Linked DNA regions of Homo sapiens: region 1 is linked to region 2. Evidence: promoter capture Hi-C in human tissues and cell types (Jung and others, 2019). All regions are on one chromosome and are shown on one strand. Each heading gives the region's core, a stretch centred on a gene start or on the middle of the fragment in contact. The rest is flanking DNA. Distances are from core to core; before and after follow the strand shown.

Region 1 (5,884 bases), core at 1,103-3,602, 150 kb before region 2:
ACGCTTACACCAGCCAGGCCCCGGGGCACTCAGGACGGTAGCATCACGGGGTGCCAAAGTCTGCAAAGGTGACAGAGGACGTGGGGCCTCGGCAGGGCTGCCTCCACTTCCCCAAGCACACGGAAGACAGGCAGGGTGGACGGGGGTGACCCGGCCTGGGACCTGGGCTGTACCTTAGACCTCAGTTCCCCTCCACATGGAAGCAGCACCAAGACCCACAAGCCCTCGCTGTGGGGACCCCCGGCCTCACCCACCACCGTCCACATGGCCCCCACACCCACGGCGTTCATCTGGGCCACAAGAAGTGTTCCTCCAGGGCACGGCCCACCCAGGCCCACCCTTGGAGCTTCCCTGGTATGGACTGGCTGGGCTGGCAGAATGGGTCAGGGTGCCAGGCAGACTCTCAGGGACTTGAAGCGAGGACAGAAAATACTCCCCAGACAAGGGCAGACACAGGAGGGAACAATGCCTGAGGACACAGGCCTGAGGCAGGCCAAGCGCTGCCACGCGTGGACTGGACGAAGGCCTGCTAGGCATGGCCTGGCTGGAAGTGAAGAACCGAGGCAGCACCTCTGGCTTGGAGGGAGCAGGTGGGAGCCCTTGCACTGGCTTCCTCTCCCCTGTTCTTATTCTTCTGGAATTAGGGAGGCTGCTGGGAGGTAGAGGAAGCACCTGCCCCAGTCCTCAGAGGACAGAATCATGCGAATGCTTAGTTACCGAGACCTCCTTCCCACCTGCACGCCGGGCCAGTGGCTCTGCCCGTGACAGCCCCGGGCCTGGCCTGTGCTCAGCACTCATCACTCTTGGGTCTTCCAGGCCATGGTGGCATTGCACGCCCTGCCCTAGGTGTGGGGTTGTTTCATGTTTCAGAAGCCGAAGGACCTGCCCTCCCTCTCATCTCAACACAGCGCCTGGCAGAGAAGCAGTTCCTCTGTCTACTCCAGGGGCTCACACGCCCCTCTGTAGCCCGAAAGTCGGCCTCGGATGTGATAAGCCAGGAAACTCCCTGGTCACCAGTGCATAAGCCCTCAGGGGCTCCAGACGCAGCAGCTGGTTCAGAATTTGTTATCCTGGACTAAAGCCTCCCCTTGCACCACCGTGGGGGTGGAAGGAGGTGGCTTGTCTGAGAAACACCAACATGGACAGGGACGTTCACTGTCACAGAGACAAGGCCTGGCCCCACCTCCCCACAGGACTCCCTCCCCAGTGCCTGGTCTGACGGCAGAACCAGGCAACACCCAGTTCCGCTCCCCTCACCCTTGCCTTCAGAAGCAACAGATAACGGCAAACCCTTGCGTGCAGCGACCACATGAAGACCGCAGCTGCGCGGGCTGTAGTTTCTTACCCTCTGTCAGCACGCACGGCTCTCCAACAGATGGGCGATTTCAAGTTGCTCTGCATCTTAAATGACCCCTTGATAAAACCCCAAACGGCTTTGGATGGGTCTGTTTCCTGTATCTTAAGCACAGAAAAAACAGCCCAGATGTTTCTGATTCATTCAAGCTTTAGTTCAAGAGCACGCTCTGCCGTGGGAGTTTCTTTGAAACTGAGGAGACACACAGGCCCTTCCTCCACTCCCTCCTGCCTGGCTGAGAAAAGGGACTTGCTTGCAGCCACCTGAGAGCAAACAGCACAGGTGCATGGAAGAGGGTCCCGCAGAGCCCTGGGGAGCCCGGCTGGGGACTCTGGGAAGCGGACGGCATCCACACGTGTCCACGCATTCATCGTTGGTACGAGATCCAACTCCCTACCTCCCGGGGGTGCAGAACGCAGGGTCCAGGGAGACGGCAGCCACCTTGGGGAGGATTCGGCCTTGTGAGATAGCAAGGTCCTTCCCTCAGTGGTCGTGGCCTCCCCAGAGTCCTACACCCCTCTGCTCTGCCCCCAAAGCCTGCACCCCCTTTAGAGGCCCCCTGAGCATGGAGACGGGTCCGTGTACCTGAGATCTGCAGGCACACAAATGTATCTGCAATGCTGCCTCGGTCAGCTGTGTCACATGGTTCTGCGGCTGCTCTGAAAATGGCCATTAGGTGGGAGTTTTTCTTTCCTTTTTCCTCTCCCCTTCTCTGTTATTGATTTAGAGACTTCATGCAGAAATTGAATAGGAGGAAGGGGGTGACAGTCCTCTGAGACCTGAAATCTCAGCCACGCCACGAGTGGCCGAGGGCCCAGGTCTGGTGACCAATGGTGAGAAGGAGTCATCTCTCAGAACGAGGCCCAGACAGTGCCGGGAACCAGGGGGTCCCACCAGGCACAGGCAGAACCAGCACGGTGCCTCCCCAGAGTCCGGTGACCTGAGGAGCTGCCAGGACGGCCAGACCCCAGTGAGTCAGTGACCACCAGGACGGCCAGGCACTCTCAGCAGCAGAATTCAGGCTGCATTCATTTTCTCCAAGGAGTGCAGTGTGGGTTCGGACAGTTTGAGCTCAAGCATTAGGGCTCTGTGGAGCAGGATCACAGCTAGTTATTGGGAAATCACCAAAAATGCATCGATACACAATTCTAGGTTCCAAACAAGAAGAGAAAGGACACTTTCGCTTTTAAAAGAAGGAAGATACAAAGCCTGGCAATGAACAGAAGTTTACAGAACAGAAAAATATGGGGTTAAAAACAGCCATTGGAGTCTTCCCAATTCTCATTCAGAGAGGGTGGCATGAAAGCCAACAGAAATCGATGTTGATAGGAAACAAGTGTCATCAGAGAAGGTAAGGGCATTCGCAGAGGGAATAATATTATTTGTGAACTGTCATGGCATGGCCGTTTTTAAACTTATCTTCACAGCATCTCTCCTCATAAGCAAGAGCATGAAGAGCACGGAGAATGTCTGTTTGGTGGCCGACAGCCATCACGGGGTCTCTACGTGCCGGCCAGTCCTCACCTCGTTTGCACGCGTTTATGAACTTAGCCCTCCCTCCGCACCATGAAGGGGCCCTTATCGTCCCGTTTCACAGGTGTGGAGACAGAGGCTCGAGGGGAGAAACAGCCCTGGCGGGCGAAGGCAGAGCTGAGCTTCCGAGAAGGGCCTCCTGTGTTCAGAAATTCCAAAGGAGAAGTAGAAGTTGTCCTGTGGGCAGGAGGGGAGGGAGAAACTCCCAGATGACAGGTGCGAGCCGCGGCCTCGTGCTGACATCTAGAACCGGATGATGGGAGCGAACCGCGGCCTCGTGCTGACGTGTAGAGTGGGAGGGACCCTGGCATCCAGGGGCTTCTTTCTTGGGGAAACACCAAGTATAGAAAGTCAACCATCGTTGTCTCTCACGTAGGATTAACTGTTGCTTTTCAGCTTTTTTACACTTATTTTTTGTTAAGCTATGTCACTACACTTTTTTTTCTGAAATAACGTTAGACTTATGGAAGAGTTGCCAAGATCGTCCAGGAGTCCCCGCCCCCTTCAGGCAGCTTCCTCCCGTGTCAGCACCTTGCATACCCGACCTTGACCACAAGGATTGAGGCTAAGAATTAACACGGGGCAATTAACTACACAGTAGCTTGATTCAGATTCCTCCAGTTTCTGGTAACATCCACCTCCTGCTTTAGAAACAACACTGAGTTCCATGAGCACGCAGGTGTCATCTCGCTGTAGGCTCCAGCCCACGGCAGGCCCCGTGTTTCCTTGCCTCCCATGGCCTTGCCACTTGGAAGAGCACTGGCTGGGTGTTTTGAAGAACAGCCCTCAGTTTGAGTTTGCTATTTTATCATGTCTGGATCGAAGTTATGTGTCTGTGCCAAGAAACTGGCAGAAGCCCCATACCCTGCTCAGCGTCCGCAGTAGTGACTCACGGGCCCTATGCTTTGCCTCATTATGGGTTGTTTTGGCCCTGGTCACCTGGTTCTGGTGGGATCTGCTGGCTTCCCCCACTGTAACGTTACTATTCTTCATTTGTAATTTATTTATTTGTATTTACTTATTTTGAGATGGGGTCTCTCTCTGTCCCTCAGGCTGGAGTGCGGTCGTGCAATTTTAGCTCACGGCAACCTCTACCTCCCGGGCTCAAGCAATCCACTCGCTCAGCCTCCCAAGTAGCTGGGACTACAGGTGTGTGCCACTGCGCCCAGGTAATTTTTGTATTTTTTTAGAGACAGGATTTCACCGTGTTGCCCAAGCTTCTCTCAAACTCCTGAGCTCAGATGATCTACCTGCCTTGGCCTCTCAGGGAAGATACTTTGAGACTACAAGAGTATCCTATTTCTCCTCAAAGTCTTTTCTGCTAATTTTAGCATGGGTTGGTGGGTTTTGTCTGCAACAATTACTACTGTGGTGTTCTGAGATGATTTGTTTCCTCACTACTCTGCTGGAATTCCTCTGAAGGAAGGACCGCCCTCCCCTCACTGATTTATTCAATCACTCGTGTGCCTTCATGTGGACTTGTGCATATTTATGCTTTGGATGATCATCCCACACTGTCATTATTTACTTAGTTGCTAAAATTTACCCAGCTCTGGCCACTGGGCTTTTCCAGGCGGGCCCTTGGGACCCTCCCATCCTTCGGGAGCACTTTCTCGCTTTCCAGCATAACCCCAGGCTGCCCCGGTTTTTCCCCCAGCCCTGGAATCCATCATTTCTCCAAGGAACCCTGCTCTTTTTACTGGAGAATGAGCTTTAGAGACCAAGGTCAGGGCACTAACTGTGCTCATTGCTGCTGGGGTGTCGCTGAGCAAAGAGAAATGTGAATAGCAAATTAGCCTATAATTATTAATAATTATTTATTGATGGGTAAATAAAGGAATGAATGAAGGAGGAATTATTCAAAATACTCAAAAGATGGATGTTGAGTACGACACTTCCTCCTTGTAAGAAATAATTTAAATGTAAATGAACACGTATCTAACTTACAGCAGGGGCTATGCCTCTTGGTGTTTTCCTGTGTGTACATCGCTGTGACACATGAAAAACGGAGAGACACCCAGAGGCAATGAGAAATGCTGAACGACGCAAAGCAAAACAAAAGCAAACATTTAAAACAAACTTCTAAGTTTACAAGAAAGAAAGAACAGACTTCGAAAAAATACCCACCTGTCGATAAAATGAGATAAATTGACCATAGATGAACCTGCTCATCAACCAGTCTGGGATCCATATTTACATTATTTCTGTGATGCCAGAACTACCAGGTAAAAAGACAAACAAACAGAAACGGTCCCAGGCTGGTGACAAGCCAAGACTGCCTAAACCAGGGCCACCTGCTCTGAAGGGGGACTCCCCCACCTGCCTCCTGAGATTCCCACGGTCAGAGTTCCCCCAAAGACGATCCTACAGTCCTAGTGACGAAACACCCAGGGAAGCCAGCCCCAGGAGTGAGAGCTGCCAGAGGCCGCCTGTGCCCAGACACGAGCCCCAGAGTTAATCTATAGTGACCATCTTTAAAGTTATCAACTGTAGAAGAAGGGTTCAAAATCAAAGGAAAACATGGGACACCATGAAAAATACGAAGAGTTTTAAAAGAATAAAATAAAGCCTCTAAAAATGAAGTGTAGAGCTATTGAAATTTCTTTTTTTCTTTGAGTGGCTGAAGGGGGTAGTTCCCTTTCTCTGTGGGTTTTCAGCAGTTTCCCTGTGATTTTCAATAGGAAAAGCAACAGATTCAGCATAGCTGAAAGATTTCCCCTACAAAATAGCCCACAATGTCCACACAGAGAGTGAAGGAGGTGCGGACAAATGGGAGATGAAGACACACAGAGGAGAGAATGAAAAGCTTCCACTGGTTGTTAACAGGATTCACAGGGGAACAGGAAATCAAATGTTACGGGCTGGCAATAATAGAACAAGACAGATAAACTCACATCCAGACACATTGCAATGAAACCATAAAACACAGAAGACTGAGATCTTTAAAGCAAAAAACAATTGCTTTAAGCCACGTTAACTACAAAGGGGCATTTGAAC
Region 2 (6,041 bases), core at 528-3,027:
CCACACCTGGCCCATGCCCTCCCGTTCTCAATTTCATGAAGGCCAGGGAGCCTCCTGACACGCCCGTAGCAGGACCTGAGTGCGCGGGCAGCGACATGGGCAGCGCTCAGCCAGGGCCACTTCCTGCTGGGCAGACACAGGCCCAGGGCACTGCTCAACAGCCTTGAGAGTAGAAGAGACAAGAAAACGAACAAGCACAAAATTCTCTCTGGCTTAAAAGCAAATGACACTTACAGTCTAAAGACAAAAGTGAACCTGATCAGCCTTGAGAAGGGGCCGGCCAGACAAGAAGAGGCTCCTTCTGAGTGCGTTCCGGGGGCGTTGCTACAAAGCTCACACAGAAAGACCACGCCAGGGCCCACACTCCTTGGTGCTTCCTGCCTCCACGGTGGTGACTGGAGAGAAGGGGCTTGGACTCACGGACCCTGCTTAGTTAGCACTTCACCTGGTGTTGAGCCTGGCGCCCCGCCTGACCACTTCCAAGATCTGGGCTGGCCTCTGTGCAGAGGAAGCTGAGACCACTCTTCGCCCGCCACGGGGACCCTGATGACGCACCCCAGGCCACCAGGCCACTGCCTTCACGGTGGGTCCCCACCCGTGTCTCCGGGTTCCTAAACTGCCTGGAGGGGATGTCTGGCCTTTCCTGCCCGGGATGGTGGGTTAGGAAGGATCTGGGGTCTGGCACCGGACTTGTCCCTGGACAGACCTCACCTTCCTTCCACTGCCAGGGAGCAGGGAGGCTGCCACCCACTGCATGAGACCCGGGCACATGCGGGCACTGCCAGCACGCGGGGTGGGGGCTGGACTGAGTCCGGACACCTTCTCAGAGACTCCGGATGGAAGGGCCTAAGAGCCTCCGGTTTCTAGAGGGGGCTGAGATCCGGGGAGTAACTGGGATTTGGAGCCAGGATGGAGGGAACAGGGCTGGGGGATTCTCTCCCCAGCCCCGTCCCCACCCCCTAGAGAAAGTGAAAGTGCTAGAAACCTCCAGATTCCCGGAACGGGGGACGGGAACACGGAGGACGCGGCCTGAGCAAGGCCCCGGTGGCTGCCCCCTCCCCAGCCAGGGCGCAGTCCTTCCTGTTCCGCCTCTGGGGGGTGGGCGGCTCCTCCAGGGTCAGGCGGGGGCAGGACGGGCCGGCCCGGGCTAGTGTTACCGGACGGCCGCGGCGCAGGGGAAGGGAGAGCGCGGGGGACGCAGGACGCCCCGGCTCCCGAACCGCCCGGGTCTCCACCGCCACCCCTGTCCCACTAGGGACCACCCAGGGGCCCGGGCTCCCTCCGGAGGCGCGCTCCAGCCCCTCCCCGTTTCCATGGCTACCAGCAGCGGCGTCCACACCTCTGCCCCCGGTCCCACCCGAGCTGACCGTACCGGGAGCCCTGGCAGGGCCCCTCGCCCCCTAGCGCTGCCACTAACGTGGGGTGGGGGCCCTCGTGGGGGACCGAGAACAGGCGGTGGGGGCGCGGGAAGGGGCGCCTCCTGTACCCCCGGCCCCGCCGCCCGCCTCCGCTCCCGGATGCCGGGCCCAGACCCGCGCTCGGGGCGCTCGGCCTTTGTCCGGCCAGGTGCGGCCGCGCTCACCCGGGCTGGGGCGCTCGGGCTCGGGGCCCTCGGGGGTGCCCGGAGCCTCCGTCCGCTCGGCAGTCTCGTCCCCGCCGCCGTCGGCGTGAGCCTCCACGGGCACCACGGTGAAGTTGGTGGGCATGGCCGCCTGCAGCCGACAGTCCCCGTCCCGGCCCGGCCCGCGCTGCGCCGCTCCCGCCGACGCCACGGGACTTGGAGGCAGGGGCGGGGTCCGACCGAGCCGCCCCGCCCCGCCCGGGCCACGTGACTTCACCTGCTTGCCCCGCGGCCCCACGAAAAGTTGGCCCGCGGCGACTTCCTGCAGGGACCCCAACCCAGGCTGCGTCTGTCTGACCGCCGCGACCCGGGACGCGGGGCTTTCGCTGCCTGCGCTCCCGACCATCGCAGAGCCCGCGAATCCCCGCTCAGTCTCCTGCACCCCCTCCTGCTCCAGCCCCCTGCCCCTCCTGCTGGAACTCCCCGCCCTCCCCGCCCTCCCCGGCCCCCTCCCCGCCTCCCCTCTTGTCCCCTTCCCCGACCCCCCACTCCTGCTCCAGCCCCCTGCCCCTCCTGCACGCCCTTCTGCTGGAACCCCTCACCCCTCCTGCACCCCCCCACCCTTCCTGCACCCCCTCCTGCTGGGCCCCCCTGCCCCTATGAACCCCCTCCTGCTGGAACCCCTGCCCTTTCTGCACCCCCTCCTGCTGGGCCCCTCCTCCTTCTGCGCCCCCTCCCGCACCCCCTCCTGTTTGCCCCCCATTTCCTGCTCCAGCCCCCTACCCCTCCTTCTTCCCCCTCCTGTTCCCCCCTGCCATCCTCCAGCACCCACCTCCCACACAGTCCGCCCACCCACTCCAGGCTGTCAACACCCGCTCAGACCCTGGGCTCCTAGCCTGGCTCCTGGCTAGCCCAACCTGGCTGCAAAGGCAACTCCAGTGGAAGGAGCCTTGGATAGCCTGGGGGTGGGGTACTCCGGAGCTTGGTCCAGCTCCAGTTTAGGGACCTAACCCAGTAGAGGGAGTCCCCCCCCCCACCCATGACAAATACCACCCACGAAGACCCCAGTCTCCTCCACACCTGCCCCAGGAGTGCCCCGCGGCCCCTGCCCTAGAACCCTCCCTTCCCTCCTTGGGAAATGTTCCAGAAGCTCACAGGGTGATGCAGGGAAGGTGGAGTTCCAGAACCCACCAGGCAGACACCAGGATACCACCGGCCAGCACCTGGCACATTTCTCAACAAATGACTCATGAAAAACGGAACAATCAGATGTCCGTCAATGGGGAATTGGGCTAAAATGCTATGGCACACAGGTGCAATGAGTCAGCCTTTATTCCTAATCACCCACAACTGCTGTACGACAACAAAGCAGAAACACAGGTGGTGTGGGCAAACACGGCCACAGCCTCTTGTCACGTGGAAAATGGGTATGGCCTGGCCATGTTTTAGCCGCTTGCCTGTCTAATCCTAAAAGGCAGCTGGAGGGGAGTGATGGCCTCCGGGCTGTGGGATCACCGGGCTCTGTGGGTTCAAGGAACGCAAGCCCAACCTCTCCAGCCATTTCCAGTAAAGCCAGTCATGCCCTGGGGTGGCCTAGGGTTCTACCCCTTTGCCCCATGGACTCTTCTGGGCAGAAGCTGTAGGCCTGGGACCCTCCTGGAACGTCGCCCATCCAGCACCAGCCCTTGCAGAGGTGGGGGTTCCTCTGGCCTGGGTGTCTGGAGCTGTGCCTGCTCCACACTCTCACCCCACCTCCCACCAAAGGGAGCTCAGGGCTGTGGATGGTGCTAGGTCAGCTGCCTCCCTGGGTCAGTGGGTTGGAAGGTAGGAAACCATCACCTCCCCAGAAGATAAAATAGTTCCCAGGCATCCTTATGAGGAGGGCTGGCTTTGCTAAAAAGATCCAGGGGGTGGGAACAGAAGTGCCCAATGGGGTCAATTATAGGGTTCACACTTAGGGTGCTGGGTAAACCCTCTCCTCAGTCACCCCAGCAGGGGCTTCTGTACATTCAACCCTGGTTGCCACCCAGCGCTATTCCCGAGGGTTGGACAGAGCTCAGGGTGGGCACGAGGCCTTCCCAAGTGATGCCAGCAGGAGCAACAGATGTGCAGGGCTCCCGTCGCACATCCAAGCTCTGCTTCACACCCCAGGACCCCAGGGCCGGCTGCCCGCCATGTGCTGGCTGTGGACCTTCAGAGGAGCTGGTTTGGAGGGTCTGTGGCCAGGGCCAGCTCCCGGACTCAGGACTCATCAGCTTCATTTTACAGAGGAGGAAACTGAGGCCCAGGAGTTTAGGGTCCTGTGGCAGCTCCGAGGGTGGTCTTCTCTGTGATTACAAAATCTTGACTAGGACCAGGGGCCATGGCTGAAGCACCTGGGTGGGTGCCCAGCCCTGCCAGGCAGAAGGCAGGTGGCTTCTCTTGTTTAAATCTTAGATCTTACTTGTGGGAGACCTCGGGTGGGGGGTGAGGTCTGCTGCCTTTTGCATTCTAATCAGGTGAGTCACGACAGGGATCAGCACCCTGTAAGCACCTGCGGGTCAAGACAGAGACCCTTGCCGGAGCCCAGAAGCCGCTGCAGGCCCCTCCCATCCCATCAGTAGCCCATCCCTAGGGGTCTGGTGGCCCCTCCCTTCGCTCTGTGGGTTTCCGTGTCCACGTATATCCTCCCACACGGCAGCCTGGGGTTAAATGTGCGTTGTGTGACTTTCAGTGCTCTCTTCCTACCCACCTCCATCCCTCTGTCCTTTTCTGTACCCGGCACCTGTTGTAGGAAGTGGCCCTCGGACACGTGGAGGTACCCGAGGCCTGGGTTGGAGCTGCATCTTTCGGTGCAGGCCTCTGCGTCTCCTGGAAGTGGGCACCTGGAGCCAGGGGACTGCTGGGATCCGGGTCCAGTCCCCTGGCAAGGCCGGGGGCTCGCAGAGGGAGCCACGCACTGTCTGGTGGTAGCTCCTCCGTCCGCAGTCGTTGGTGCTTGATGTCTGAATCGACAGATTCATGGAGCAAAATGGTGATTTTCCAGTGCGTGGTGGCTTCGTCATGAATTCACTGGAGGGAGAGGCTCATCTTGTCCGTCTGGCCATCTGGATAATGGTGCCCACAGGAAAGGCAGGGCAAGGGTGCCTCTCCCTCATTTGTCAGTTTCCACAACGGTGAATTGGTTCCCGACAATCTCCCAAGTATATTTGTACATCGCTGATGAAACACATTGGTGGGTCTCAGTCGATCACCATTAGTGCCCTTTCCAAGCATCGGTGTCCAGCTTTGCCCAGGGGGCCTCTTCAAATGCAATCTCGCATCCTTATGATGTGAGCCTGGTCATCTGCGATGGCCTCTTGGCCGTGTGCAGGGCACAGCCAGGGGAACCCTGGGATTTAGTGCGAAAGTGTAGCCGATGGTGGTTACATTCTGTGTGTAGATTCTCGAAACAGTCCCTGCTGCCTGCCACCCTGGGGTGGAGTTTCTAATGGATTAGGACGGACACCCAATGCCAGCTTCCAAGCCAGGAGGCCGCTCGTGCCCACGGCTTGGAATCAGGGCTGTGGCCTGGGAGGGCTCTCACCAGACGCAGGCTGCCTCCAGGTATCTGTGTGCCTCTGCCCACGGAGCTTCTCCCCAGGTCCGCGGGTCCCCCCAGTCCACTTCTGCTTTCCTGTTAGGGTGGGGGGCTCATCTCCTGGTGCGCCATCTGCATCCTTCTGGGCTGGGAACCTGCTGTCGGGTATCAGGCAGGGCGCACCTCCAGGGCTGAAGGATGCAGGTGGGGCTGGCAGGCAGAGTGTCCGTGGAGAGCTCCGTGTCCAGGGAAGGGGACACCTGGAGGAGGCCGGCCCTGGAGGCCCCACACTCCTTCTCACCAGAAAGCCACCCGCCTTCTGCCTGGCAGGGCCGGGCACCCACCCAGGTTCTTGCCTGTTGGCCCAGCACCCATGGTGAGTGGGGGAGAGAGCGAATAGGGCAGAGCAGAAGAGAGAGGGGAGGAAGGAGAATCGGGGGAAGGGGGAGGGAAAGGAAAGAGGTGGGAAGGGAGGAGAGGGAAGGGAGGCCCCAGTTACCCAAGGCTAAAGTGATTTTTAAAAAACAAACCTTTTTTTTTTTAAGCGTGGTGAGCCTCTCCTGGCAGGGTGGGGTATGTGGACATCAGTGGAGGAAGCAGAGTCTCCGGCCACCTGTGGGACCCACACTCTCCCTGCCCAGGAGTCCCACCAGGGCCGAGAATTCTGCCCATGGCCAGGGTGGCCCTAAAGCCCCACATCCGCCACCACCTGTGGGGGCTCGAAGGGAGCTGTGGTAGGCAGGGATGACAGAAGACCCCAGCCACAGCCCCAGGCCCATGGCTGCATCTCCCCTGAAGAAGCAGCCCTGTCCCAAGGGTTCTGCAAACAATGCCAGGCTCTTCCCAGGCAGGCACCGCAAGCTGCCCCCCGCCCCGATCCCTGGCTTGCCCAGGGCGGGGCCTCTGGGCCTGGTGGATGGT

What was found. The method cuts DNA at HindIII sites, captures the fragments that hold promoters and counts their contacts. A contact is called where the count stands out against the background at its distance.
Region 1: a contact is called between a fragment that was not itself captured here and the fragment with the promoter of SLC12A7 in region 2, in 1 of the 25 tissues and cell types used here (spleen).

The regions. Positions count from the first base shown.
Region 1 is chr5:962,754-968,637 of GRCh38, forward strand. It overlaps LOC124900931 (a long non-coding RNA gene), which reads right to left and starts at 1,408. Exons shown (of 2, transcript XR_007058676.1): 1 at 1,346-1,408. RefSeq lists enhancers at 837-996, 2,583-3,084. The HindIII fragment of the contact is 5,091 bases long and covers 1-4,898 here.
Region 2 is chr5:1,110,286-1,116,326 of GRCh38, forward strand. SLC12A7 (solute carrier family 12 member 7) reads right to left here and starts at 1,778. Exons shown (of 24, transcript NM_006598.3): 1 at 1,583-1,778. The coding sequence starts at 1,706. The HindIII fragment of the contact is 45,067 bases long and covers 1-6,041 here.